Regions from separate parts of the Homo sapiens genome. Here regions 1, 2, 3, 4, 5 and 7 are each linked to region 6. The links are contacts of gene promoters, found by promoter capture Hi-C in blood cells and fetal thymus (Javierre and others, 2016). All regions are on one chromosome and are shown on one strand. Each heading gives the region's core, a stretch centred on a gene start or on the middle of the fragment in contact. The rest is flanking DNA. Distances are from core to core; before and after follow the strand shown. Region 1 overlaps PTK2 (protein tyrosine kinase 2). Region 2 overlaps PTK2 (protein tyrosine kinase 2). Region 3 overlaps PTK2 (protein tyrosine kinase 2). Region 4 overlaps SLC45A4 (solute carrier family 45 member 4). Region 5 has its middle 11 kb from the start of LINC01300. Region 6 holds the start of DENND3 (DENN domain containing 3). Region 7 overlaps SLC45A4 (solute carrier family 45 member 4).

Region 1 (4,062 bases), core at 1,180-3,679, 190 kb before region 6:
ATAAAAAAATACCAAACAATTAGCTGGGCATGGTGGTGCCTGCCTGTAGTCCCAGCTGCTCAGGAGGCTGAGGTGGGAGGATTGCTTGAGACGGAGGAGGCTGAGGCTGCAATGAGCCATGATTGTGCCAATGCACATCAGCCTAGGTGACAGAACAAGACCTTGTGGTTTTAAAAAAAATTTTTAAATAAAAATAAAAGTATATTGTTCACTATAGATTTTCTTGCATAAATTTTTGATTCTTAAAAATACTGTAGGCCAGGCGTGATGACTCATGCCTGTAAACCCAGCACTTTGGGAGGCCAAGGCAGGAGGATCACTTGAGCCCAGGAGTTCGAGACCAGCCTAGGCAACATAGTGAGACCCCCATCTCTACAAAAAAATTTTAAAATAGCTGGTTGTGGTGGCACACACCTATAGTCCCAGCCTGGGAGGCTGAGGTGGGAGGGCTGTTTGAGCCCAGAAGGTGGAGGCTATAATGAGCCATGATTGGGCCACTGCACTCCAGCCTGGGCGACAGAGACCCAGTCTCAAAAAAAAAAAAAAAAAAAAAAAAAAGCTGCATTAAATTATTGTTTATCTTAATTACTGAGGGTTTTGGTGACTCTTTAGATATTATGTCAAGACAAATGCCTCAGCCTAGTCCTGCTGGCACTGTCCAAAGATCCATTTCCACATTCTACTCTTTCCCCCACTGACCCCATTCTCCTCAACCACATGACTCTCAGGGGTTTGTGAAACTAGAAATGTTTCTGCTCAATGCATGTTAAACATAATCACGCAATTTTTAAAGTTTCACTCTAAGAATAAAGATATTTAACATTTCTTTTTTTTCTTTTTTTGAGATAAAGTCTGTTGCCCAGGCTGGAGTGCAGTAGTGCAATCTTGGCTCACTGCAACCACCACCTCCCAGGTTCAAGCAATTCTCATGTCTCAGCCTCCCAAGTAGCTGGGATCACAGGCGCCCACCACCACACCCAGTTTATTTTTGTATTTTTTAGTAGAGAGGGGGTTTCACCATCTTGGCCAGGCCAGTCTCGAACTCCTGACCTCCAGTGATCCACCCGCATCAGCCTCCCAAAGTGCTGGGATTACAGATGTGAGCCACCATTTCTTTTTTCAGGGACCAGAACTACAGTAAGCAAAACTGTCAAAGCCATATCTAGTTTAATTGAAATAATTACAATGTAATTTTTACACTGGACCAGCAAACTCTTGAATTCATAAAATGTCTGAATTTCAAAGGAAGCATGCCATATAAAAACTTGTTAGCAAAATCAATAAATTATGGATATTTGCATCTTCTATGATACAGCAGAAATAATGTATTCATTCACTCTTTTTCTGTCCAAGGATCCTGACTAACAGCAGCAGAGACTAAAATCAACTGCCTCATCAGGGTACAACAGAAGACAAACAAGACGGGGGTTTGTATACAGCTAGCTTACTAAGAGTCTTCCTTCCCCTTTTTTTGAGATGAAGTCTTGCTCTGTCGCCCAGGCTAGAGTGCAGTGGGGCAATCTCGGCTCACTGTAACCTCTGCTTCCTGGGTTCAAGTGATTCTCCTGCCTCAGCCTCCCAAGTAGCTGGGATTACAGGTGTGTGCCACCACACCCGGCTAATTTTGTATTTTCAGTAGAGATGGGGTTTCACCATGTTGGCCAGGCTGGTCTTGAACTCCTGACCTCCGATGATCTAACCACCTCAGCCTTCCAAAGTGCTGGGATTATAGGTGTGAGCCACCGCACATGGCCCCCTGACTTTTTAAAACCAGGATCTCTAACAACAGTAATGAAAAAAAAAAAAAAGACTTGAGATTTCTAAATCCAAGACAGATGCAACAGCTGGCAATAGAAGAGCATTTCCTTTAGAAAAAAACAGAAGAACTGCATAAAATATAAAAATCATCTGTTTGAAGACAGCAAGAACAGGAGGGGCTAAAAAACTTCAAAACCACAGAAGTTCAGCTGATCTTTTGCATTTACTTTTACCTTTGGTATGTATTTACCAATTCTGAGAAGAAGAAGCAGGTGGAGAATCTAGGCTGTGCATTCACAGAAAACTGCTGCCAGAAGACAGAAAAATCAGGCAAGGTTTTGGAACGCTAAATCCTAGAGCATTAGTATTCTTACTGTATAAAGGTGTATTTATTGTCAAATATTATTCTGCAATGAAAAGGAATGAAGTACTGATACATGCTACAACATGGATGAACCTTGAAAACATTATGCCAAGTGTTAGAAGCCACAAGAGACCACATACAGCCTGATTCCTTTTATATAAAATGTCCAGAATAGGCAAATCTATAAGAAAGTAGGTTAGTGGTTTCCTTGGGCTGAAGATAAGGAATAAAGAGTGACTCCTGGTGGGTATGGGGTTTTCTTTTGGGGTGAGGGAAATTTCTAAAATTGATGGTGGTGATTGTACTCATTGTATAGTATGAGAATTATACGTCAATTTAAAAAAAAAGACACAAAGCCTCTAAAGGCAGTGAGTAGAGATTTTCAAGTCTTACAAGACAAAGATTAAAGTGCCACACACGAGGAAGATAAGGAAAAGGAGCCGATAAATATAAAATAAATGACATAGAGCTAAAGGACAAAAAAAAATACCTTTAACAAATAAAAGCCACCAGTTGGTATTCAGAAACAACAAGTTCTAGAAGATCAACCAAGAAAGAAAAAGAAACACAAATAAATAACTAAAATTCCTAAATGAACTATAAACATTACAGAAAAGAAATCATATATCTAATAAATCATTGGTCTAAAATCTTGTTTACAATTATAAGAAATTGAAGATAAACCCTTGGCTTTCCCCTCAAAACCTAATCCTGAAACAGATTTCCCCAAATCAGTAAATAGCACTGGGGTCAGTGTCATGCGCCTGTAGTCCCAGCTACTCAGGAGGCTGAGGCAGGAGGACAGCTTAAGGACAGGAGTCTGAGGCTGTCAGCATACCATGATCACACCTGTGAATAGCCACTGCACTCTAGCATCCTGAGCAACATAAGGAGACTTTGTCTCTAAAAAATAAAAAAATAAATTTTTTTTTTGAAATTAGCAACTCCATTCTCCTAGCTGCTAATGAAAATACCTTGACATCATCCTTGATTCCTTAACTTTAGAACACAACCATCCCAACAAGTTTCTTAAAATTTACGTCACGCCTCTGCTCAAGATCCTCCAGTGGCTTCCCATCTGACTCAGAACAAATGCACAAGACCTCACAATGGCCCAGAACGCTCTAAGAGATCTAAACCACCCATGAGAAATAACACCTCCCCAATGTTCCTGCTAAACGGCCTCAAAAGTTTTAAACAAGTAGTGTTTATCAAGTTATATTCTGCTAAGCCTCTGCTATGACAGTGATGAAATTTTCTGACCATCTGTTGTTATAGACTTATTCCTATTTTCTGCATATAAAGTTCACTTCTGAAAACAACTCTCTATTGATCTCTCTCTAGCAAGATGTTTTCTTTTCTGTAGGGAAAAGAAAGAGATATCAAAATGGAGTTAGAGAGATTAGACTGTTACTGTGTTTATGCAGAAAAGGAGGACATAAAAAACTCCATTTTGAAGTTTGAATCAGCACTGCAATTACAACATTAACAAGTGACACATGATCTTAAGTAAGTTGTCAATCAGAGGTTAAAAGTATTATCACAATTGTTAAATGTGTATAGCTAATTAGAACTATGAGAGCATTAAAGAAAGGGGGAGATAGGAACAACTTTTCAACAACATATAAATGTTTATTTTATATCTATTAGACAAACTGTCCATAAACGATAGAACCAAACAGAAGGAAAAAAGCTACTTTACACCCATGAAATGTCCCAGGGCCCCAGAGCATATTATAGCAGGAGCTACTGTGGAAAAGAAAAAATGATTCATATCAACAACTCAAGAAGGAATCAAGAATCAGGATTACAATTCACTGAAGGCAAGCACCCCAGGTCCAGAGGTAAGCACCTATGCCTCAGAGTGACTTATCCTGACAGATTCTTAGAGAGCATAAATAACACCTAGGCTGCGATGTATCCATGGTTCTCTGGCCTCA
Region 2 (3,605 bases), core at 1,011-3,510, 240 kb before region 6:
ATTTACTATTACAGATTCAGATTTACCAACCATTCCCTACTGACTCATGACTAGTACTGAAACCTGAGGATATGCTATTTATTTAGAAAAGTTCAATGTACCAGTCAGAAAAATTTTAAGGGGTTTTGAATGGGATAAGAATACTGTCCAAGTACTCAATGGTGGTGTAATCTTAAGCAGCATCATACAGTATTTGCCCAGTACTTGCCTGGTGTATGGGCATGAAATTATTTGTTCTAGTCCTTGTAATGTCTTTTTAAAAAATAAGCTAGGTACAGAGATATCAGTAAAGTGGGGTATGGCTTTGAATAGGTATAATCTTTGGCTATCAAATCAATATCTTTGTGGTTATTTGTCAATTAAGGCTTTCTACTTCTGTGGTCAATGTTCCTAACATATTTCTCTCAGAAATATTCCATTTCACCTTGGATGCCATATAGTCATTCAACAAAAGTACCTATACCTACTGAGCACTTGGCTGTTTGCCTGCTAGACACTGTTAAAGACATTGGCAATAATACCATGAAGTACAAAGATCCCTGATGTCACAGAACTTAAGAAGTTGGGGAAGAAAACAGCTAATAAATGAGCAAACAAATCAAGTACAAGACGATGTCAATAATAATGATCTGAAGAAAATAAAATAGTGACAGAAAAACAGCAATGGTGAGGCATAAGGGAGCATTCTTAGACTGGCATGCCCTGGCAGGCAGAGTTAGTAAGGGCAGGGTGAGAACAAGCAAGGAGCCACATCCCGTAGGTCCTTGTAGGCCACAAAAGGAATCTGGCTTTTAGTCTGGGAGAAATGGGGAGCTCTTGGGGGGATTTAAGCAAATCACTGATTCGGTGATTAGTATGTTAGAGAAACAGGAAGCAGAAAGAAAAAGTGAGTGACTAGGACAGAGGTGACAGGGCATGATGGGACAGGATGGGGGAGATGGGTGAGACTCTCAAAGGACGTGCATGTTGACTAAATGAAACCGGGTTCTGAGTGGAGGAGTGAAGTGCTCTGGCTTTCATCTCTCCAGGATCATTCTGGCTGCTGGGTTGTCAACAGACTAAGGAGAGCAAGTAGGGAAACAAGATGTCAGTTAGGATACCATGCCATAATGTATGGAAGAGACATTTTAAGGCAGCTACTGAAGAAGAGCTCAAAGAAAGGGGTAGCAGTGGAGGCAATATGAAATGGGTAGGTTCTGGATATATTTTTGAAGATAATGTGGACAGGATTAGCTAATGTATTCGATATGGCTTGAGAGCAAAAGAGGAATAAAAGACGATTGCAAATGGATCTGAGTAACTAAAAGATGAGGTAACCCTTTGACTGGAGCACTGGATGGTTATTTTGTAGCAAGAAGTGTAAAGACAGAGAAGTGAGGTACAAATGTTGGGGAAAGGGAAGATATAGAAATGTGTGGACTTTTCCAAGTACTGCAGGTTGAAGAAAGTGGACGAGGTATGAAATGGTTGTCTAGGAGAGAACAAGATGGGGGGATAGAGCATGACAGCTGGGTAGCACTAAGGTTGCAAATCTAGAATGTAACCAATCACAGGATGGCGACAGGTGGAGAATAGGCAGAAGGTTGGATTAAATCATGGTGGTAGATTCAAGAGACTACGGGGACATTAAGAGAGGTACAAGACAGCATACAAGGCAGCAAGTATGACAATGGACCACTGTCTCTTGCATCCTGCTACAGTATTTTCTTATGGGCTCAACTTTTTTCCACGCTGCATTATATCATCTAATTGTTTTTTCAAAGAGAGCCCATGCTATTAGCTTTCTATGTCACTACTTCTCTGCAGATACCTTCATTTCACATTATCTTGATTAATAATTTATCTGATATAGACTTCTAAAGTACATGTTATTTTCCCTGAGCCCTTTGAAGATACTGTTCCAATGTCTTCTTGCATCCAGCATTGCTGATGAAAAGTCTGGTGTAAACGTCATTCTTTCTCCTAAGTAGGGAATTTCTCTGGTAGAATTTGGAATTTTATGTCATTATTTTTCTGAATTATCACTGCCATGTTTCTAGATGACTGGTCTTATTCAACATTGTACAGCCTGGGTTTCTCTTGGCTGTTCTAGATTGACCCCACACTTATCTCTAGAGCTGCCTGAAGCACGGTACTGACACTTGGCCAAAGCTATGGCCAAGATAAGTGATGTTTGTGATCATGGGACCCTGAGCTGTTTGGGGGGCAGAATATACCAGCTTGTCAGTGCGATTTTGTAATAATAACTGGACTGACAAGGTGTACCTGATTTTGGCAGTACCTGGGGAGGTCCACAGGTTGAGGCTGGCTACGTAGATGGAGAGTGCTTGTGTGACCCTCTCACAGATCCCCACCACTTCCTCATACTGAGGTGCTTCACACATAAGCCAGTAATGGTTTCACATCTACAGAAAAATCATGTCCAAGGCCAAGAAGCCTGTACCCAAGATCTCCAGATCACTTCAATGAGTATCATTTTACTACTGTTGCTGTAATGGATTTTGCCTATAAACTGTGAAATCTTGCAAATCTTTTCAACAATCAAACATTAATTAACATACAATTAGCACACATAATTGTAAAAGCACTAATACTTATTAACTGAAGCATGATAAAGGCTCTATAATGAAATGTTACAAAAATCCAGATATTCTTGGTGAAAACAAATCTTTAAACTCCTCAAAAAGTTTTGTTTTTTCTGAACCAAGCAGTCTTTCTGAGAATTTGCTTTCTACAGAACACCACTGTCCAGCAGAAATATAATGCAAGCCACATAAGTAATTTTAAAATTTCTAGTAGTCACAGTAAAAAAATAAAATAAAAACAAACAGGTAAATTCAATTTCAGTAATATAGTTCAGTTAACCTACTATATCAAAAGTATTATCATTTAACATGTAATCATAACACATTGATATATTTTATTCTGTTTTCTTACTCTTTGAAATGTGGTATATATTTTTATACTATAGCACATGTCAATTCAGACTAGCCACATTCAAGTGCTCAACAACTGCACATGGCTACGATAATGGGCAACGTAGCTATAATGAGTTTAAGACTGAATCGAGTTATTCAGTACCTGAATAACAATAAGCCGTATCATTTCAGAAAATAGTTGTGTGGCATCCCCTTTGATGCTATTCAATGGTCAGTTTCTTTCTGACAAGTAATTATACTTGGATTCTTTACTAATCTAATCCTTAAATCTAAATCCTACAATCCCCACTTCCTGTTCTAAGGTCATCAGGCCTTCAAATGCTGTCATGTTTCTTCCATTTTTCTCTTTCCTGACAATACTCTGTATCCATAATGTTCCTTTGTCTGATACCTCTTATGTTGTTCAGTCCCTTTGTTCAGATGTACAAATCCACTCATTAATTTACAATTATGATATTGCATTTTCAAATGTTATAGCATTAAAGCATTCAATGGAAGTTGGTTATGAATAATATCCAATCTTCCATTACAGTGACTCAGTATCATGAGAACCTCATGCTATCCCAGGAAAGGGCTATGGTGAATTCAATGCCAACTGTGATTTTTCTGCCTCAATCTGAAAATCACTGACTGATAATTTGCCAATTACTGTGAAATAAAACACGT
Region 3 (3,966 bases), core at 865-3,364, 170 kb before region 6:
CAATTTGTTATTACATTTGCTATTTCCAAGAAATGTATCTAATCCTAAAAATAACTCAGCAACCATACCAAATCTCCAGATAAACTTCAAATTCCAAATGCAAAGTTTCCTTTAAGATTTGGTACTACAGGCCGAGCGTGGTGGCTCACACCTGTAATCCCAGCACTTTTGGAGGCCAAGGAGAGTGGATCACAAGGTCAGGAGATCGAGACCGTCCTGGCTAACACAGTGAAACCCTGTCTCTACTAAAAATACAAAAAAATTAGCCGGGCGTGGTGGCGGGCACCTGTAGTCCCAGCTACTTGGGAGGCTGAGGCAGGAGAATGGCGTGAACCTGGGAGGTGGAGGTTGCAGTGAGCCAAGGTCGCGCCACTGGTCTCCAGCCTGAGCGACACAGCGAGACTCCATCTCAAAAAGAAAAAAGAAAAAAAAAAAAAGATTTGGTACTACAAATCAGTCTCACCAAGTTAATACTAGAGAGCTCACCTAACAAAAAGTACTTATAGTACACATTTTTTAAAAGGCAATGATTTAAGCCTGGTAAGGAAATTTTAGATAAAAGAAAGCAAAGGTTTCTTTTATAGGTTTAATTCTTTTAAAGATTTCATTTAGAGGTTTATCCCTTCAACCATACAACCCAACTGGAGTGGTGGTGTTTTAGGAAAACTGCCTCCTCTTTTGCAATTTATTGAGTTAGTATCTTTAAACTCAAAAATATCTGGGCCTGGTGTGGTGGCTCATGCCTGTAATCCCAGGCAGAGACAGGTGGATCACATGAGGCCAGGAGTTCAAGACCAGCCTGGCCAACATGGCAAAACCCCGTCTCTACTAAAAAAAATACAAAAATTAGCCAGGAGCTACTCAGGAGGCTGAGACAGGGGAATCGCTTGAATCCGGGAGGTGGAGGTTGTAGTGAGCTGAGATCACACCACTGCCTGGGCAACAGAGCAAGACTCTGTCTCAAAATTTAAAAAAAAAAAAAAAGGAAGGAAGAAAGGAAGGGAGGAAGGGAAGAAGGGAGGGAGGAAGGGAGGGAGGAAGGGAGGGAGGGAGGGAAAAAAATTATGTGGTTATTTTTACTCATTTCAACAAATTCTTGCTGTTTTGTGTGGCAATGAAGACAGCAGTCCCATAGTAAAGAGCTAAAGAAAACTGTGTACAAGCATCCAGCAATGCCAAAAGCTCTATCAGTATACTATGCCTACTACAAACACACATACTCTGTGAGGGGCCTGAGGGGCCTCCTGTATAGGACACACAGCTCGAGCATACTCTACAGTCATCACACCTGTAATCCCAGCACTGTGGGAGGCCGAGGCGTGTAGATCATGAGGTGAGGAGATCGAGACCATCCTGGCTAACACAGTGAAACCTACTAAAAATACAAAAAATTAGCCGGGCGTGGTGGCTAATCCCAGCTACTCGGGAGGCTGAGGCAGAGAATGGCGTGAATCGGGGAGGCGGAGCTTGCAGTGAGCTGAGATCACGCCACTGCACCCCAGCCTGGGTGACAGAGCGAGACTCCCTCAAAAAAAAAAACCACAGAATGTCCACCCTCCTTTCCCAGCATTAGTGACACTCCTCACTCATGGCAATCCTACAAACTTCCTGGCCCTTGTAGGTCCCCCCCCCCAACCCAACCTACCTAGGCTTCCTCTGCTTGCCCTTTAAGTGCTCTCCTGGGGACCCTATTCTTTGTGTTAAGTACATTCCCTTTGCAGTGCAAAAGCAGCCATAGACAATATATAAACAATTTGAATGCATCCCAATAAATACATATTTACAAAAGCAGATTTGGCCCACGTGCTATAGTTTCCTCAGCCCTGTAACAGACCACTGATACCAACACGCACGAACCTTAAGGCCTTGCCTCTCCCTCTAATACAGCCTATATATGTTCTTCCTCCTATAAATATATACCCTATAACAATGAACAGCTTATAATAGCATCTCCTCTTAACTAATTCTTTCCACGAGCTATACTCTGTGCTAAGAGTCTTAGGAGTACTCAGTCCTCAAAATAACCTCTCAAGGAATTATTCCTGTTACACATTTCCGGAAGTTCAGATTTAGAAGGTTATCTAATTTTCCAAAGTCACATAATAATAAAAAGCCAAGCTAAGAATCAAATTCAGGTGTCTGACCCCAAAAATCCTGCCCTTAACCATGACCAGTTGCCCAATCTAACTCTTTCACCTCACTTATCTCTCACCCCTAAGATCCCTGCTCTCCAATTCTATGGCCATCCATTTAATTCAAGTTACAGTGTTGCAAAAACAAAAACAAAACAAAACCTCCTAACTGATCTACTTTCTTTATTACAGTGCCCCCTTCAATTCAACTTCTTCACCAGTACCTACCTGAGTGACCTTTCCTAAAACAAATTATGTCAACCGCTCAAAAGTCTTCAACAGCTCTCATTACTTTGAGGGATATTAGAAATTCTTTGCTTTGAAAAGCAATTTTCCAACTGTGTTCCCTATTCTGCTGACATTTATCTGGGGCATCAAAGCATACCTTCTAAGCCTTTACCTCTTCCTCCTCAAAATATTTCTCATCATCCCATTCCAAATAGAATATTCCAGGGGGAACAGGGAAGAGGAGAACTTGAGGGGGGTTAGGGGGTTAAGAGGGAGAAGGAGAGAAAGAACAGAACCAAACCACTAGCTTCCTATCTCATTTTCCATCACTTGCTCATTCCTTTTCTACGGTAGGGTCATACTGAACAACCTCAACTTCCCTTAATGTGCCATGCTACTTCTTACAAACAAGCCTTTACTTATGCCAGTCCTTCTGCCTGGTAGGTTCTTCCCTTCCCCCACCCAGCTTACTCCTAATCATCCTTCAAAGTTCAGTTCAAGTGCAACCAAAAATCTGCCTTCCATGACCCTCCTCCCACCTAAGACTGATGTGGATGCACCACCCTATGCATGAATGTTTCTACCACAGGATTTAGCCCACTGAACTATAATCAATAATTTGCCTGTTTTTTAAGAGACAGGGTCTTGCTCTATCTTCCAGGCTGGAGTGCAGTGAGGAGAGCCTAGCTCACTGTAGTCTCAGACACCTGAGCTCAAGCAATCCTCCCACCTGAGCCTCCCTCAGCCACACCATCACGCGCCAGCTAATTTCTTTTTTTTTTTCTGGAGATAGGGTCTCACTCTGTCATCCAGGCTGGATTGTGGCAATGCGATCAAGCTCACTGCAGTCTCAACCTCCCAGGCTCATGCGATTCTCCTACATCGGTCTCCCAAGTAGTTGGGACCACAGGTGGGCACCACCCCCAGCCCCAGGTAATTTTTTTTTTTTTTTTTTTTTTTTTTTGGTAGAGAGGGGAGTCTCACTATATTACCCAGGCTGGTCTCAAACTCCTGGACTCAAGAGATCCACCCGTCTTGGCCTCTCTCCGCCTCCCAAAGTGCTAGGATCACAGGCATGTGCCACTGAGACCATTTCTCATTTAACTATTACTTTTCAGAACCAAGTATAATGCTAGCAACAGTATATGCAAATGCAAAGAAAGGTTTTTTCATTTATTCATGTACAGAGATCTGCTATACATTCCTGGCATCATTCCAGGAACAAAAATTCAAAGACACTCAGACCTTGCTTGCCCTTAATGAGTTTCAACTACATATTCTTTGCTCCCAAGAAAAAAGGTATTTATCCTATATCCTCTTTCTCTCCAAAAGACAGAACATTCACCAATGGCTTTACAGAATTTTGATGGTCCTGCTATCATGAACGGATATGGAAACTAAGACCTAATAATCCTTTTTTGACATTGCATGCATCATGTAATATGAAGAGTGTCGGCCTGGGCATTAGGAAACCTGATTTCTATTGTTTAGAAAAAAACACTATTACTTTTAAAGAAAACAAAATCCAAACTCTTTATTATGACCCTTACTTGTCAAGCCAAGTCTAACTCTCTAGTCTAAAGTCTCTCAGCACTGTCTCTTATGA
Region 4 (4,001 bases), core at 906-3,405, 170 kb after region 6:
AGGCTCTTTCTGCAAAGCCCTTCCCTTCATCCCACAGGCCATGTCCTTTAAAACTCAGTTCAAAGACTAGTGAGAGTCAACAGAATTGCTAACGGGTGATGAATCTGGGGATAACACGATTACACTATTTTCACTACTTTTAGGCATGTCTCAAAACAACCACAGTAAGAAGTTTTTAAGAAGAACATTCTGTTTCTTTCAAGGACTACCTGCTCAGACGTTTTCCGCACCCAGCCATGGGTCAGATGCCCTCCTCGGGGTTCCCAGGCCTGCCCCATCACCCTGGCCAGATGGCTGTCTTCTCAGGCACCTGCCTTGAGCCTGGCACTGAGCAGCCACCTGGGGACCATCTCCAGAATGGAACATACCACAGCAGGCCCAGTCCCCTGCTAGCTCACAGTCTGAGCCTAGTGACAGTGCCCAACAAGAGGGCAAAATTGGGCACCAAAGGCTCAACCCAGCAAGCCAAGTGGCCAACCCGAAAGAAACAAGGAAACAAATTGGAGCGGCAGCACCTCCTCCCTGACCTCCGCAGGAGCCAGGGAGCCAACCCAGAGGGCAGTGCCAGCTGGGCACAGCTGCCCATACCTGTGGCAGCCAGGAGTCCTTCCTTCCAAGCTCTTGGCCAGGGAGGAGGGGTGTGGGAACTAGCATGCTGCGTGGGCCAACAGCAGGGCTGGCCACAGAGCCCCCTCCAGCAGCAGCTACCTGGCATGGGGAGTGACCGCAAAGGTGCCTCAAAGTCGAATCCAAGGCATGGAGGGCACTGCTGCATTTCTCCACGCAGAAGACAAACGGCACTTTTCAGTGGGGGGTGGGGGGAGCTGATGAGCAGTGCGACCCAGTGGCCCACAACTGCACTAGGCCGGCCGTATCCGGTGGCTCCTCTCCCTCACCAGTGCCCCCACCAGGCGCTGCTCCAGAGGTCCCAGCTGGGCGCCCGGCACGGATGCAGATGCCGCACTGTCTAGCAGCGTGAGTGCTGCTGTGACCCCTTCTCAGGCGCTTACTGAGTGCTGGAGACAGAAACCCCTCACACACCCTGGTTACCACACGGAAGCAGAAGCTCCGAGCACTGGGTGGCTTCTGGAAGGTCACAAAGCCAAGGAGGGCCCAGCCCGGACTATAAACTCTCCCTGCACCCCACCCACAACGAGGACGCCAGGCTTCATGATGTTTCTACGGAAGGAGAAAGCGGACGGGGAGCCCCGTGCCTTTAAGAATTAAAAACACTCTCGACACCTCAATAGTTCAGTAGTGGACTAGACATGTTTTCAACAGCCTTGATATTCCCTTCGGCTTACCTAGGGAGACACCTGTCACACTAGAGACACCAGCTCCAGGCTGCAAGTCCATAACAAGACCACCTGAGCTGTGGGTGTCGTTCTCGCCACCAAATCAGAGCTGCCCTTCAAATGGGCACGGTTAGGGACAGCAGAGCGGCCGTGGCCGCAGCCCCGGGATCCGGCTTCATCCAGCAGAGGGTGGTGGTGCGCAGGCCCTGATGGGGGAGGACTTCCACACTCCAAGCTTTTAATGCCGTTTTACGTAAGCAACACGAAAAAAACCACTAGCAGTTATTCTAGTACTCCTGGCTGGGAGCGGATTTGCATACTGAAGTAAAGCCTCAGGTTAGGGCAGGAATTTCTAGAACCAGCTGGACTCTGCTGTACCTGTTCTTCTTCAGCAGCCAAAACGTTTCTCAAAGTCTTTTAAGAGACTGAAACATTGATTTCAGTATTAATACCCAAAATACCACGAAAATATAAGGATTTGCTGCTTTGGAGAAGGGACCAATGGAGGATCCCCTTTCCAGGGTGATTTAATCCGGTTCTGTGGGGGTAATTAGGGGCTGGCCTGTCTTCCTGGTCCCGTTCTTCACTGTTTAAACCGCAGGATTCCTAGAACACGACCGTGGAACTGCTCTTCTCCTCACCCATCCCTGGAATGAAGGCACTGGCCCCATGATCTGACGACATCATCGCCTCCCCAAATAGCTGCATGGCCGAATTGGAAGTGACGCATTCTTAGTGGACTCCTAATGGCCAGCCCTGAGGACAGAAGACAGGTTAAAACTTCAGCCGGACCCACATTACCGATTCCACAGAGTTGGGCGAGTAGCCTGCTTTCCTCCAACAAAGCTGGGAGACACCAGAGACCCCAGGTCCGTCAAATCTCCTCTTATGTCATAAAACCATCACACAACGCAAAGTTCTACTGCTCTCAGTCCTCAGCGTGCTGTTTCTGAGTGGGATGGGAAGTGGTGGTTTTTTGGTTACTAAACTGATTTTCTTACCAAATTTCATTAGGTCTAAAGGCTAAAAATAGTAAATCTTTCTACTTTTTGAGCATCTCCAGATTTGAGCAAATTCTCAGGGATGCCAAGTGTCAACGCCCCGGACCAGCCTCATCTGGTTCTCGGGCAGAGGCCCACCTTCCCAACCCACCCCATGGCCCTGATCCTAATGGCAACCTGATGGCCTGAGACCAGCTGCCTCGCTCCGGAACAGGCACAGCGATGCCCTGTGCAGGAAGAAGGGCGGAGCAGGGTGACCAGATTCCTGCCAGGCAAAAACCTCTAGCAAATCTAAAGTCTGGCCATGTCAGTCTTCTCTGCTTCTAACACACCTTTCTGTCAAATTAAAATTTAACCCGAGGCACAATTCCACTGTCTTACATTTTAGCCCAACCAGATGAAAATGCCGCAGCGTGCTTACTCGTGAAATGGTTCATCTTCTGCCCTTTAACACTGCGCATTTAGAAAACAGGCAATTAAATAGTAAAGCTTAACATGGAGCAGCACGGACCCCGTGACTCGACGAAGTGGCGTGGACCTTACCCGTGGACCAAGTGTGCGAACACAGCACAGCAAGCGCCCCGTGCAAACACAGGAGCATCCTGAGGGGCCTCCGGTGTGGGGAACTCAGAGAGCCGCAAGGTCCCCACAAACGCCTGCCTAAAACTGGACTGCCTGAGAAGCTGCTGTGGAGAAAGTCCCGGTGCCCAGGGAGCCCCCACCTCCAGCCTGCCTGCCCCGCCTAGACAAGAGGAAGGCACTCTTCCCAGGGAACGTTCCAGCAACAGAGATGTACCCGGTACCAGGGACAGTTCAATTATCCCTTTAATTAAGGCACCTTAAACGGGCCCCACCCCCCAGCTCTTTGAGACCTCCTTCCGGTGTATTTTGTGCATTTAGTAATTGTTTATCAAGATCAATGATATTTATGTTTCTGTGATCAATTCTGTACTGATAATTACAATGACATAAAACATTCTTCTGGATGTTAACATAGCCTAATGATCACAGAAATGTTTTAAATTGCAATATATACTTTTGTCACAGAGAAGTATGGAGAACAGTCCATAGGTCGGGTGCAGTGGCTCATGCCTGTAATCTCAGCACTCTGGGAGCCTGAGGCAGGAGGGAGGGTCGCTTGAGGCCAGGAGTTCATGACCGGCCTGGGCAACATGGTGAAACTCTGTCTCTGCCAAAAATACAAAGAAAAATTAGCTGGGCATAAGCCCAGCTACCTGGAGGGTGGAGGTGGGAGGATCACTTGAGCCGGGGAGGTCGAGGCTGCAGTGAGCCATGATCTCACCACTGGACTCCAGCCTGGGGGACAGAATGAGACCCTATCTCAAAAAAAAAAAAAAAAAAAAAAAAAAAATCCTGGGCAACTCAGTGAGACCCCATCTCTGCAAAAAATAAAAATAAAAACTAGCTGGGCATGATAGCATACACCTGTGGTCCCAGCTACTCAGGAGGCTGGAGAGAGAGAATTGCATAGACCTAGGTGGTCAAGGCTGTAGCGAGCCCTGATCCCACCACTGCACTCCAGCCTGGGTGACAGAGGGAAACACTGTCTCAAAAAAGAAAAAAAAGAATGAGGGATGAAAAGACTTTCAAATGGAGCAAACATACAAGTTCACAAAGAAAAAAACTGCCTTGTCAAGACTGTTAAGAACAATTTGTTCATTTTTTAAAAGGGTGACTGATGGTA
Region 5 (4,147 bases), core at 198-2,697, 200 kb after region 6:
ACCAGGCATCATGATGGGTAGGAGCACAGCTGAAGGCCGGGGCCCTCGGGGGACACACTTAGCCCCCCTGTGCTTCGGTTTCCCCCTTGGCCAATAGCACCCACCCAAGGGGTTGGAGGATTACCTAAGGCAGGGGTTGGCCAACTCTTTCGGGAAGGGCCCAGGGAGTAAATCTTTTCTCCTTTGCGGGCTGTGAGGTCTGTGTTGTAAGACTCACTTCTGCAGCTGCAGTTTGCACGCAGCCTTACAGCAGATGTAAAGGAGTGGGTGTGGCTGAGTTCCCAGGAAACTTGATTCGTGGACACTGAAAGCAGAACTTCATGTAATATTCTTGTTCTTTGGTTTTTGTTTTGTTTGTTTGTCTTTTGAGACAGGGTCTCGCTCTGTCACCCAGGCTGGGATGCAGTGGCACCATCTTGGCTCACTGCAGCCTCCACTTCTCAGGTTCAAGCAATCCTCCCACCTCAGCCTCCTTGGTAGCTGGGATTACAGGCTCACATCACCACGCCCAGCTAATTTTTGTATTTTTAGTAGAGACGGGGTTTCACCATGTTGGCCAGGCTGGTCTTGAACTCCTGACTTCAGGTGATCTGCCTGCCTCAGTCTCCCAAACTACTGGGATTACAGGTGTGAGCCACTGCACCTGGCCCCTTCTTTAGTTTTCTTTTCAACCATTTAAAAATGTAAAAACCATTTTAGCTTGCAGTCCTACAGAAACAGGTGGCTGGCCAGCTTTGGTCTGAAAGCCAGCCCTGCCCTAAGTGAAGGAGCCCTCTCAGCACTAAGAGGCGCCGGGCCAGACCTGCTTATCGATCACCTTTGGGCCCAGTGTGGGGCTGCTGCTCCGGAAACAATTTTTCTTTTTCTTTCAAGATTCACCAGCTCTGTTCAGGAGGGTGGCCAGCTTGGCGACCTGGACATTTAATCCTCCAGCCAAAGATTCCCTTCTGTGCGGCAGCCCTGAGGGGGCTGTCTAGATGACCTCACTTGAGCTGAGTGACTGCCTGGGATGTGGGTCCCGTGAATGGGGCACCTGTTTCACAGATGAGCAAACTGATGCTCCGAGGCAAGTTACTCAATCCCCTGACCCCGGCACGGTGCCCCGCCTCTTGGAGCCCAAGCCAGCGGGGCTGAGGCAGGGGCTGCTGGGGGTGGACAGGGGAGGTGGGCTTGGGAGCACTGAAGAAAGGGTGACACTCCAGGCATCTGTGAAAGCCCAGAAGACATCCCTAGACAAAGGAGGAAACAGGGTTAGGGAAGGGCACTCCTAGAGAAGGAGCAGCTTGCAGAGGCCCAGTAGTGGCACCACAGGGGCAGCTGGAAGATGTGGCACCACGGGGGCAGCTGGAAGATGTGGCACCACGGGGCAGCTGGAAAGTGGGGTTGGTGGGCAGAGGTGAGACTGAGTCCTGGGAGAAGTCCACACCGGACATGGGAGACTTTCCCCTGACCTGATGGGCTTTATTTAAGCAAGGAAGGGACTGGTGTGAATTAGATTGGAGACACTCCCTCTGTCGGCACAGAGACAGCACTCTCCACTAGAAATCTCATGCCAGCCTCGTGAATAATTTCTAATTTTCTATCAGCCACGTTAGGAAAACGGAAAAAGAATTTGATGCAAATTATTTTAGTAATATATTTTATGGAACCTAATATATCCAATATATTATTTAAACGTGTCATTCATATAACAAATTATGAATGAGATATTTCACAGTCTGTCTCATACTAGGTGGGGACATATTCCACGCTTACCGTACAACTCAATTCGGACTGGCTGCACCTCATGTACTCAGAAGACAGGCTGCAGTCTTGTATGACATCTTGGATGAGACTCAGGCCGCAGTCTTGGATGACACATACGTGGACATCGGGCTGTGGTGGCCGGAGTAGAGTCAGAGAGGCTGGAAGGAGGCCCTTTTCCAGGGCAGGAATGATGGTGCCTGGCCTGGAGCTGTGGTGGGGTTCCTGGCCCTCCATTCAGCTGCCAGCCCATCCCAGCTTGCACCGGAGGGAAGCAGCGGGCCTGGGCTCTGCGGCATCCCAGGGGGGCAGGTCACAGGGCAGCTACCCTACCCCAGCCTCCTCCCTGACCCCGCCGGTGTCTGCCCAGACAGCCGGCATCCCCATCCCGCTGGGCTGGCTCCCGGCCCTGCCCTACCCCCAACTCCAGACTCATGTCAGGCTTCCTGTCCCAGCCGGAGGGTGACCCGAGGCCTGACCCCAGAGGCCCAGGCGATGGGCCCGGAAGGAAGGCCGCCTCCTTGATGCAGCCACAGCAGGCGGGGCTGGGGCTTCCCCATGGACTCCCTCGGGAAGCACTTCACACTTTGGTGGGCGCTCAGCCAGGGCGGCCCCCAGCAGCGGCAGGAGGCGAGGGCCTCTGGGGCAGGGAGGACATGCACCTGCGCCTGGGCCTGTGAGGGGCTCCCCCACCACAGCGTGGGGTCTCTGGGCATGCCAGGGTTGCCCCCACTAGACAGCCAGGGTTCTCAGGGAACACAGAGCAGGCAAGCAGGCCGGCTTCTGCTTCAGCCTCAGCCCCTGTCCGCACCTGGGGCAGCACAGGACAGGTTTAGGAACAGACCCTAGCTGCACGCCTGGTGAGGACCTTCACCTCTGGGCCTCCCGCTGCTCCTCTGTGAAAATGGAGGTATCGGGGTGTTCGTCCCTTCTAGGGCCAGAGAGAGATGGCAGCGAATGCACGTGGTCCCTAAAGGAGAGCCGTCCGTGGCCACGTAGGAAAGTGTCAGGCCCAGCTCCTCATTCCTGGGATGTGGCCTTTTCTCACCTGCGCTGAACTCTGCTCTCAGGACTCAAACCCTGAGCTGCTGTGGAGGCTAACTCACTCATGCTCCAGGCCCATCTTCTGAATAAGTTTCCCAGACCCTCCAACCTGCCCTCCGTGTCGGCCCTGGGGTGCCTGCCTCTCCTTCCCTCTTCCTCTTCTTCTCACAAATATGGGCCGAGCTCATGTGATACGTCAGGCACTATGCTAGGACGTGGGGGTCCAGCTGGAAGGGACAGGACAGAACCCTGCCCTCCTGGAGCTGGCAGTCTGTAGCAGACACTAATCAGTTAAACAGATCACAAACTGTGACTGTCTCCAGCAGAGACACCTGGTTGGCCTTGGGGGAGCACATAGCAGATGGATGGGGGTCCCTGCCCAGGGCTGCCGGCAGGCGGTGCACCTTGCACTGCTCACTTAGTCCCACAGCCTCGCTTGCCCGCAGGCAGTGTGTCCTCTGCACACTTTCAGGGCTCCGTCCTTCTGCCCAGCGCCTCTGCAGGCTACGCCTTCTGTGCTGGGCCTCTGGGCATAGTTACTAGGCAGCCAGGGCTGGGGCCAGCCCTTGGCCTTAGCTCAGCTCCAGGGAGGATCAAGAGGGTGTCCAGTGTGGCCGTACACCTGGGCACCTGCTTCAGAATCCAGGTCCTTGGGAAACAAGTGGCTTTGGTCTTGCCAATGCCTTTGCTCTGTTTTCAGCTGGGAATTAAGCTGGGGAACAGCAGGAGGGGCAGCATTTGCTGGCCCTGGTGCAGGAGGTTGTGGGTGAGAAGAGCCGAGTTCAGGTCCCCACCTGGGCAGCCTGTGGTGTGAGCTAGAGGTGCAGAAGCCTGCGGGGACACGGAGGGCAGCCGGGCAGGAGCCTGCGGGGACACGGAGGGCAGCCAGGCAGGAGGCTGCGGGGACGTGGAGGGCAGCCGGGCAGGAGCCTGCAGGGATGCGGAGGGCAGCAGGGCAGGCTGGGCTTTCTCCAGTGCTTGCTCCCCTCCCAAGGGAGTTCCTAATTTGGGTCCCCCTGCTCTTCCTTGGTTGAGTGGGCCCCACGCACTTGGCTATGATCCAGCAGACTCCTGCGTCCTGGTGTGTCCCTGCCCCACCTTCCCACTGCCCTCGGCCTCTCTCCCAGCCCCTGGGAGCTGGGTTTTTTGCTTCCAATTTCAAATACATCAGACTCCATCCCACTGTCCTATCCCAAGGTGTCTTTTGCCTTTCTGGGAAAATAAAGTGGCAGGGGAGTGAACCCACCGCAATGGGACAGCCCTCCTCCTGTCCTCCGCGGGAGCAGCATCTCGCAGGGGCTCCGCCAAGCCTTCGAGGCCCAGCCAAAGCTGGGGTGGGGGCACTGGCCGGAAGCTTAGG
Region 6 (2,700 bases), core at 1-2,500:
CCTCAGCTCACCGATGAGAGCCACCGATGGTAGGCAGCCTCCAGGCCTGGGGGAGAACCAGCAGATCCTCACCATCTTTAGGTTAATAAGTGAAATAAAACCTGTGAGTCAGGCTGCAGTCACGGCCTCACCCGGCTCAGGGAAGGAGGGAGAAATTCCTCAGGGCTCCCTTTTCTGATGTTGCCTTGCTTTGTACTTACTGTTCCTTTTCCTGTTCAGCTGATGACAGATGTTTGACATTAAGCATTTTAGAGTTTTGTTTTTTAGAAAATAGAATCATAGATTATCAGAAGTGGAAGTCCCTTTGGAATAATTTCCCCTGGGTTACACAGATGGCTATGGCAGGGTCAAGGGAGGGGACGGTCAGCGGGGACTGAGCGCAGGCCCCCTCCAGGCTCTGCAGCAATGACCAGGCAGCAAGCCGGCCTCCCGGGCTTGTGGGCTGTCCTCTTTCTCTGGGGTCAGCCTGAGGCTGGAAGAGGCCCGTGGCCCACCGGGCATCAGGCCAAGCCTGGAGCTGACCAGGGAAGGGCCCTGCCAGGCCTTGGGCCTCTGACCCTCAGTCCTGAAGCCTCCCTCTAGCGGCGCCCACCCTGCTCCTTTTCCTGCTGAATTTTACTCAAGTCCGTACTTGAGTATGGCCGGCCCTAGGTTAACCCCGCAGAGTTATTAACCAGGAGTGGCTCTTTCCACCCCCCCTTCCCGCCGGCCCTTCCTGCTGTCCACACCCGGCCAACTCCACTGTCCTGGCAAGGGAGGGCTTCCTGGAGGCGGCAGCGGGCGGCGCGTCCGGCCTTTGTCCCCCCACGCTCTCCAGGGTAGGTCCAGGGACTGCCAGATCAGGGGACCCTTTGCGTCCTGGAGCCTTGGGGGCTGGATGACGTCGCCGGGCACCTGAGGACCCCGCCCATTCCTCCCTCGGTTCCCCAGGGAGCGGGCGGCCGGCGGGGCTGGGCGGGGCCGAAGGAAGGGGCCGCTTGCTCCGACGCCGCGCACGCGCCAGGGCCCGCAGGCGGGTTAGGAAATGACGACCGCGCGCGGGTCTCCAGCAGCACCCGCCCTAGGACCGGCCCCGCCCCCAAGTCCCGGTCCCTAGGGCCGGGCACGCCACTCCAGGCCCCGCCCAGAACCTCCCCGCCCAGTCAAGCCCCGCCCCCAAACTCTGTCTCCCCGCGGTATCCTCTGGGGCTCTCCAGGCCCCGCCTCGGCTCGGGCCCCGCCCCTCCAGGCCCCGCCTCCAGCCCCGCCCCGCAGACGGCGCTCGCAGCGCCCCCGGCCCCCAGGCGGCGCGGCTGGTCCCCAGGGGTCTGCGGGCGACTGCGCGGCTGAGGCGCCCGAGTGCGGTACTGGCGGCGGGCGGCGGGCAGCCATGGCGGAGGCCGCGTCGCCGCACTTGTCGCTGCCCTCGGGGCTGCTGGAGCTCTGCGCGCTGCTGGGCGCCCCCCGGGACAGTCTCCGAAGTCTCGAGCAGGTGAGGGGCGGGGAAACTGAGGCGGACGTGGGCCACGAGTCGGCAGCCGGGACAGCAGTCGGAGAGCGGGCGCCCGGGTGCCCTGTGGGTTGGCGCGGACTTTCCGAGGGCTGAGTCCCGGTCCCCCGGCGGTGACCCCGCGCGCCTGTGGCCGGGGATCGCGCCCGAGCTCAGGCAGGTGCCCTGGAGCAGCGCCCTGCTCCCCTCCCCTCTTCTCTCCTCTCCCCGCCCGGGGCCCTTGGTGTGAGACATGTCTTTTGAGAGCTGCGAACTTGGTCCGCCGGCCGGGAATCTGGGGGTGCCGCCCCTCGGAGAGTCTCTGGGGCCTCTCTCTTCAGTCGCTCCCATCTTGGGCAGGTGCTTCTGAAGGTGGGGTGCACCAGACAACGGGCGGAAGCCGCCGGAGCCTCACGGTCTAGCGGGCCCAGCCCTCGCTGCTGAAATGATTTCATTCTTTATGCTGGGATGTGTTGTCCCCTGAGTAGTGGGTTTTGCACCAGGCACAGAATAACGAGAGAGCAATCTTAGAGTTAGCCGCCGGCCTCGCGTATTCTGCATGAACCCCTTTGCGATGAAGCCTATAGCTATTTTTCTCCCTTGCGGTACCACCCCCACCCCCAACCCTTCCTCCATCTCTGCACCCTCGCAGCCAAAGTGACAACTTCATCTCCCTTCTGCTGGGAAAGCGGCAGTTTTGGAAATTCTCGTTTTCCTTTTTCTTCCCCAGCTTTTCTTAATTCTGTAACGCTGGCTTTCCCTGGAATCCATCTGTGTCTCTGGTTTCCTCCTGGTCCGCCTGTCTGTGACACCGTGACTGGGTCATGTTACCTAGAGATCCCGGCGTCACTGGCCAGCCGTCTGCACAGGTCCGTTCATCTCTTTGCAGACAACAGCATAGAAAGGCAGAGAGGCTTCTGAGTATTTAAATGACGCTGGGCTATCCAGGGAAAATGAAGACTGCAGGGCAGAGGGTGTCACCAGGAAAGGCAGATGTTCCTGCAAGTAACCAGATGAATGTCTGTGAGTGTCCGGGGAGTTTCCCCTGCTGGGCGTCAGTACCAAGCCAGTTTCGACTTCAGTGAAAAAGCATTCTCCTATGGAAATAGTTTCCTCGTTTCCCTCAACTTTTCCTTCCCTTCAACGCCCTGTCATGTCAGTAGATCCCGTTTGACCTCTGTCTCCTCGCAACGTCATCGATTGATTTGTCTCCCTACCTCGAATTTGCCAGA
Region 7 (4,111 bases), core at 211-2,710, 150 kb after region 6:
CTGAAAGCTTATCACAGACGTGATAAAATCAACATGATTCACGTACTTTAGATGTTTTAGATTTTACTGTTAGTTCACTAAAAAGTCCACCCTTTTACTCTTAAAAAAAAAAATCTTCAAATTGTGTTATCTTTAAACATTTTTTTTTTTGAGATGGAGTCTTGCTCTGTCCCCCAGGCTGGAGTGCAGTGGGGCGATCTCGGCTCACTGCAAGCTCCGCCTCCCGGGTTCACGCCATTCTCCTGCCTCAGCCTCCAGAGTAGCTGGGACTACAGGCGCCCACCACCACGCCCGGCTAATTTTTTTGTATTTTTTTTGTAGAGATGGGGTTTCACCGTGTTAGCCAGGATGCTCTCGATCTCCTGACCTCGTGATCCGCCTGCTTCAGCCTCACAAAGTGAAAAAAACAATTTTTTAAGAGATAAGGTCTCACCATGTGGTCCAGGCTAGAATGTAGTGGTGCAATCATAGCTCACTGGTGACCTCAAATTCCTGGGCTCAAGCAATCCTCCGGCCTCAGCCTCCCAAGCAGCTGGGACTACAGATGCATGCCAACATCCATGTCCGACTTATAAGTCACTGTTTTAAATACAGCACACTTCTCATCTGCGAATAGTTCCAGGACACACCCTTACACTTTTGCACCTGCCTCAGCAGCAGCCCCGCCCTCTGACAGCCCCAGCACCAGGCAGCTGAGCTGAGCTCCTGCAGCACATAGGGAGCCTGGGCTGAGGCCACACTCGTGAGGCAGTGGGTTTCCCCGATGGGATCTCGGTGCAACCCAACAACTGAGCCAACTGGGACTCCTCGGTCTGTGAAACCCATGAGGACATTGGCGAGACTGGGTGAGCACAACCCATAAGGACACTAGCGGGACAGGGGTGAGCACCTGCGGTGGAAGCGGGGCGGGCGGCCGACCCACGAGGACACTGGCGGGACAGGGGTGAGCACAACCCACGAGGACACTGGCGGGACAGGGGTGAGCACCTGTGGTGGAGGCGGGGCGGGCGGCCGACCCACGAGGACACTGGTGAGACAGGGGTGAGCACCTGCAGTGGAGGTGGGGCGGGCAGCCGAAGGAGAGACAGGCCTCTGCCCCCTAGCCACCAGCAGCTGAGTGCTGACCACAGCCCCCACGGGCAGCACAGGCAAGCAAGTGGAGGAAATAGAGGAACTGTGAGTGAGCAGAAAAATGCAATGCAATCAGCTGACCAGAGAGGAAGCTGGGCTCCTTGCTAACGTCTCAACAAGGCACAGACGCACCCGCAAGGGAGTGGGCAGCACTGCAGGATGCAGCAAGGGCTGCTCAGACCTGCTGGGGGCATCCTTTGCCCCGGGCTCTGTCCCTACTGCCCCCAGGCACATTTCACTGCCAGGCTGCTGGGGGCCAGGGCTCCAGCCTCCAGGGCAGCACACCTCAGCCTGCTCTGTCCCCTTCAAGGCCAGACAAGCAAAGCCCCAGCCCCCACCTTGGCCCCCAGCCTGTGGGCACAGTTTCTCTCCACAGGCTTGGCTGGGCCTGGCTTCCACACCTTCCAGCTCCAGCCTTCACCCCAAGACCCCCACCTCTGTGACGGCTCCCACATTCTGCGGGACCCACCTCCAGGCTCTGCTGGTTCTCCTCTCACCTCCTTCCCCCACGCAGCCTGGAAAGGAAGGGCCGATGCTCGTGGGAGCCCCTGTGGCCTCGGGGCCCTGGCTCTATCCCCACCGTGCCAGGCGGCCTTTCCTTGCCTCCCATCCGCCTACTCAGAAGCCCAGGATGGCTGCCAGGTGAAGGAAACGGCTCTGGAGGGGAGCCAGGACAAGTCTGGCTTTACTGAAAAGTAACATCCGCAGGACAGACTCATAGCTGACTTTGTTTGAAGGAGCAAGTCGGCTAAGAGTGTCATTTTCCTTTACACCTGCAATCCCACGGACCACATCTCAATGCCCTCTACCCCCATTCTTACGTCTGTCACTTGCTCTTTCACATACGTTGCAAGTCTTTGATGAGGGAGGCCAGCTTTCCCTCTGGAAGGAGATGCCTTCAGTTGTAAACCGACAATTCATAAAAAGTTGGGGGCTTCGAGTACACAATTCCGCATTCCCGAGAAGCCTGCCAATCATGCAGTGGAAACACCTGACCTGGTGCATCGCGCACCCCTCCCTGGCCAGGCTGCCCTCCCTGGCACACGCCCCGCGCTGGCCGGCAACAAACAAAACCCACACGGACAAAGGAGTCTTTACAAGAACAGCCAAAACAATTCCATCTGCGAACAAAAACTAACGGCAGAATTAAAGGCTGCAAGTCCAAACACAATCTGGCTATTGTAAACAGTGCCTCAGTTTATCAATGTAACAATAACTCTTTCAAAGATTAATAAAGTTCCCCCCAAACACTCAGCAATCTAGCATTGTTAAGATACTTTGGAGGATAAATATTAGCTTGGGACTCGCCTACATGAGAAGTGAAAGCTGCCAAGACAGCAGTTCTAAAGCAAGAACCAGCGGCAGCAGCGGCGGCCACAGGGCAGCGAGGCATGGGCCCAGGCACTGCTTCCAGCCTTGCCGCACATCAGTTCGACTCCCCAGGCACCTCCTTGCACCCAGCACCACGCTGGCCCCTCACCCCGTGTCACACTCCACATGCAGCCCCCTGCGAGCTGAGCAGCAGGACTCACCTTGGGCACTGTGAGTGAGACAGAGCAAGGGCACCAATCCTCTGGGCCCCACGTGCCCCCTGCCCACCCTGTCCTGGGGTCACTGGCTCGTGAGGGCGGGACTGCGACTCTGTCTCCTGGATCCCTGATGGCCAGGCGCCTGGCAACAGATAAGCCACCCACAGCAAACAGGAATAGGTGGAAAATGGACTTAACTAAAAGGAGAGGTTTTAAGATGATTGTTGGAAATAAAAGGGAACAAAGGAGCATTCAAGCTTAGATTTGATTCCAACTTACTTTCTTGAAAGACATTTAAGTAACCTGGGTAACCAAATGCAACATGGTGTTGGGGCCAGCTCTGAGAGCAGTGGGTCACGCGGGGCCCCTGCAACATGGTGTTGAGGCCGGCTCTGAGGGCAGTGGGTCACTCGGGGCCCCTGCTATCAGCAATCCCAGGTTGAGACTCCAAACAGCCAGGCTGAGTGGGTGCTAGGCTGGCCCACCCTCTGCAGGGTGTGTTTTTGCCCCACCCGTACCTCCACCATGGGGGTTTTTGTTCGTGTAATGCGACAGCGTGCAGCTCCACACACACAGGAAGCAAGCTGTCAGGACAGAGCCTGACTCGCACAGGTAACTGGAATCCTCCCCAACAGGTGGGTGTGCAGAGAGCAGGTCCCTGTCCGGGCACCTCCCGAAGGACTGTCTTAGCACGACCTTGCTTCTCCCAGGGGAGGGAAAGGAAAAGGGCCTCGTGAGGTCTCCGCAAGACCGGGCTGTGCGTCCTACACCAGGCTGCCTTCTCCTGCACATTTTCCTACTCAAAGACAACGGAGTCCAGGCATCCTCTCAGCATCGCACGAGTTCCCCTGGTGCAGAAAAACAGACTTTAAAAGTCTGAATCAGTCTCAGCCAAGTGTGGTGGCTCATGCCTGTAATCCCAGCACTTTGGGAGGCTGAGGCGGGTGGATCACCTGAGGTCAGAAGTTCGAGACCAGCCTGGCCAACATAGTGAAACCCTGTCTCTACTAAAAGTACAAAAATTAGCTGGGTGTGGTGGCAGGCGCCTGTAATCCCAGCTACTTGGGAGGCTGAGGTAGGAGAATCACTTGAACCCGGGAGGCGGAGGGTGCAGTGAGCTGAGATCACGCCACCGTACTCCAGCCTGGGTGACAGAGCAAGACTCCATCTCAAAAAACAAAAAAACCTCCGAATCAGTCTCCTACAGTAGCTGTGACTGTGACAGGCTCAGCCCTCAGTTTCCCCACCTGTAAATGGGAGCAACACTGCGAGTGTTGTAAAGGGCAGGTGGCGACACAGCACAGTGCCTGTCACAGCAGGCTCTCACGGACAGAGCGGTTGCTAATGGCCTTAAAGCTCCGCGGCAGCACGTGGCCCCTCGACTGCTCTCAGAGACAAGGTACTGTCAACTAAGGCGACTTTCTGAAATGGCCTTAGGATGAGTCAAATCC

The links. The method cuts DNA at HindIII sites, captures the fragments that hold promoters and counts their contacts. A CHiCAGO score of 5 or more calls a contact.
Region 1: a contact is called between a fragment that was not itself captured here and the fragment with the promoter of DENND3 in region 6, in 2 of 17 cell types (naive B cells and total B cells). The highest score is 5.5, in naive B cells.
Region 2: a fragment that was not itself captured here is called in contact with the fragment with the promoter of DENND3 in region 6 in 1 of 17 cell types (naive B cells); the score reaches 5.3 in naive B cells.
Region 3: a contact is called between a fragment that was not itself captured here and the fragment with the promoter of DENND3 in region 6, in 2 of 17 cell types (total B cells and naive B cells). The highest score is 5.5, in total B cells.
Region 4: a contact is called between a fragment that was not itself captured here and the fragment with the promoter of DENND3 in region 6, in 2 of 17 cell types (neutrophils and monocytes). The highest score is 9.9, in neutrophils.
Region 5: a fragment that was not itself captured here is called in contact with the fragment with the promoter of DENND3 in region 6 in 2 of 17 cell types (neutrophils and monocytes); the score reaches 9.6 in neutrophils.
Region 7: a fragment that was not itself captured here is called in contact with the fragment with the promoter of DENND3 in region 6 in 2 of 17 cell types (neutrophils and monocytes); the score reaches 10.0 in neutrophils.

What each region holds. Positions count from the first base shown.
Region 1 is chr8:140,931,397-140,935,458 of GRCh38, forward strand. All of the region lies in intron 1 of PTK2 (protein tyrosine kinase 2), which reads right to left. Among named protein-coding and RNA genes, the nearest start is that of PTK2, 68 kb to the right of the region's middle. The HindIII fragment of the contact is 8,898 bases long and covers 1-4,062 here.
Region 2 is chr8:140,884,891-140,888,495 of GRCh38, forward strand. All of the region lies in intron 3 of PTK2 (protein tyrosine kinase 2), which reads right to left. Among named protein-coding and RNA genes, the nearest start is that of PTK2, 110 kb to the right of the region's middle. The HindIII fragment of the contact is 5,639 bases long and covers 1-3,605 here.
Region 3 is chr8:140,961,251-140,965,216 of GRCh38, forward strand. The region is part of intron 1 of PTK2 (protein tyrosine kinase 2); the gene reads right to left. Among named protein-coding and RNA genes, the nearest start is that of PTK2, 38 kb to the right of the region's middle. The HindIII fragment of the contact is 4,308 bases long and covers 1-3,966 here.
Region 4 is chr8:141,298,095-141,302,095 of GRCh38, forward strand. All of the region lies in intron 1 of SLC45A4 (solute carrier family 45 member 4), which reads right to left. Among named protein-coding and RNA genes, the nearest start is that of SLC45A4, 8.2 kb to the right of the region's middle. RefSeq lists enhancers at 950-1,656, 1,699-2,548, 2,549-3,397. The HindIII fragment of the contact is 1,255 bases long and covers 1,529-2,783 here.
Region 5 is chr8:141,327,380-141,331,526 of GRCh38, forward strand. No RefSeq gene overlaps it. Among named protein-coding and RNA genes, the nearest start is that of LINC01300, 11 kb to the right of the region's middle. RefSeq lists enhancers at 1,728-2,264, 2,265-2,799. The HindIII fragment of the contact is 5,383 bases long and covers 1-4,139 here.
Region 6 is chr8:141,127,339-141,130,038 of GRCh38, forward strand. It overlaps DENND3 (DENN domain containing 3), which reads left to right and starts at 1,251. Exons shown (of 23, transcript NM_001352890.3): 1 at 1,251-1,471. The coding sequence starts at 1,370. It overlaps DENND3-AS1 (DENND3 antisense RNA 1), which reads right to left. Exons shown (of 2, transcript NR_183310.1): 1 at 2,686-2,700. RefSeq lists enhancers at 1-678, 1,512-2,342 and a silencer at 797-1,656. The HindIII fragment of the contact is 7,380 bases long and covers 1-2,700 here.
Region 7 is chr8:141,277,508-141,281,618 of GRCh38, forward strand. All of the region lies in intron 1 of SLC45A4 (solute carrier family 45 member 4), which reads right to left. Among named protein-coding and RNA genes, the nearest start is that of SLC45A4-AS1, 25 kb to the left of the region's middle. RefSeq lists enhancers at 535-1,344, 1,111-1,180, 1,191-1,270. The HindIII fragment of the contact is 2,910 bases long and covers 6-2,915 here.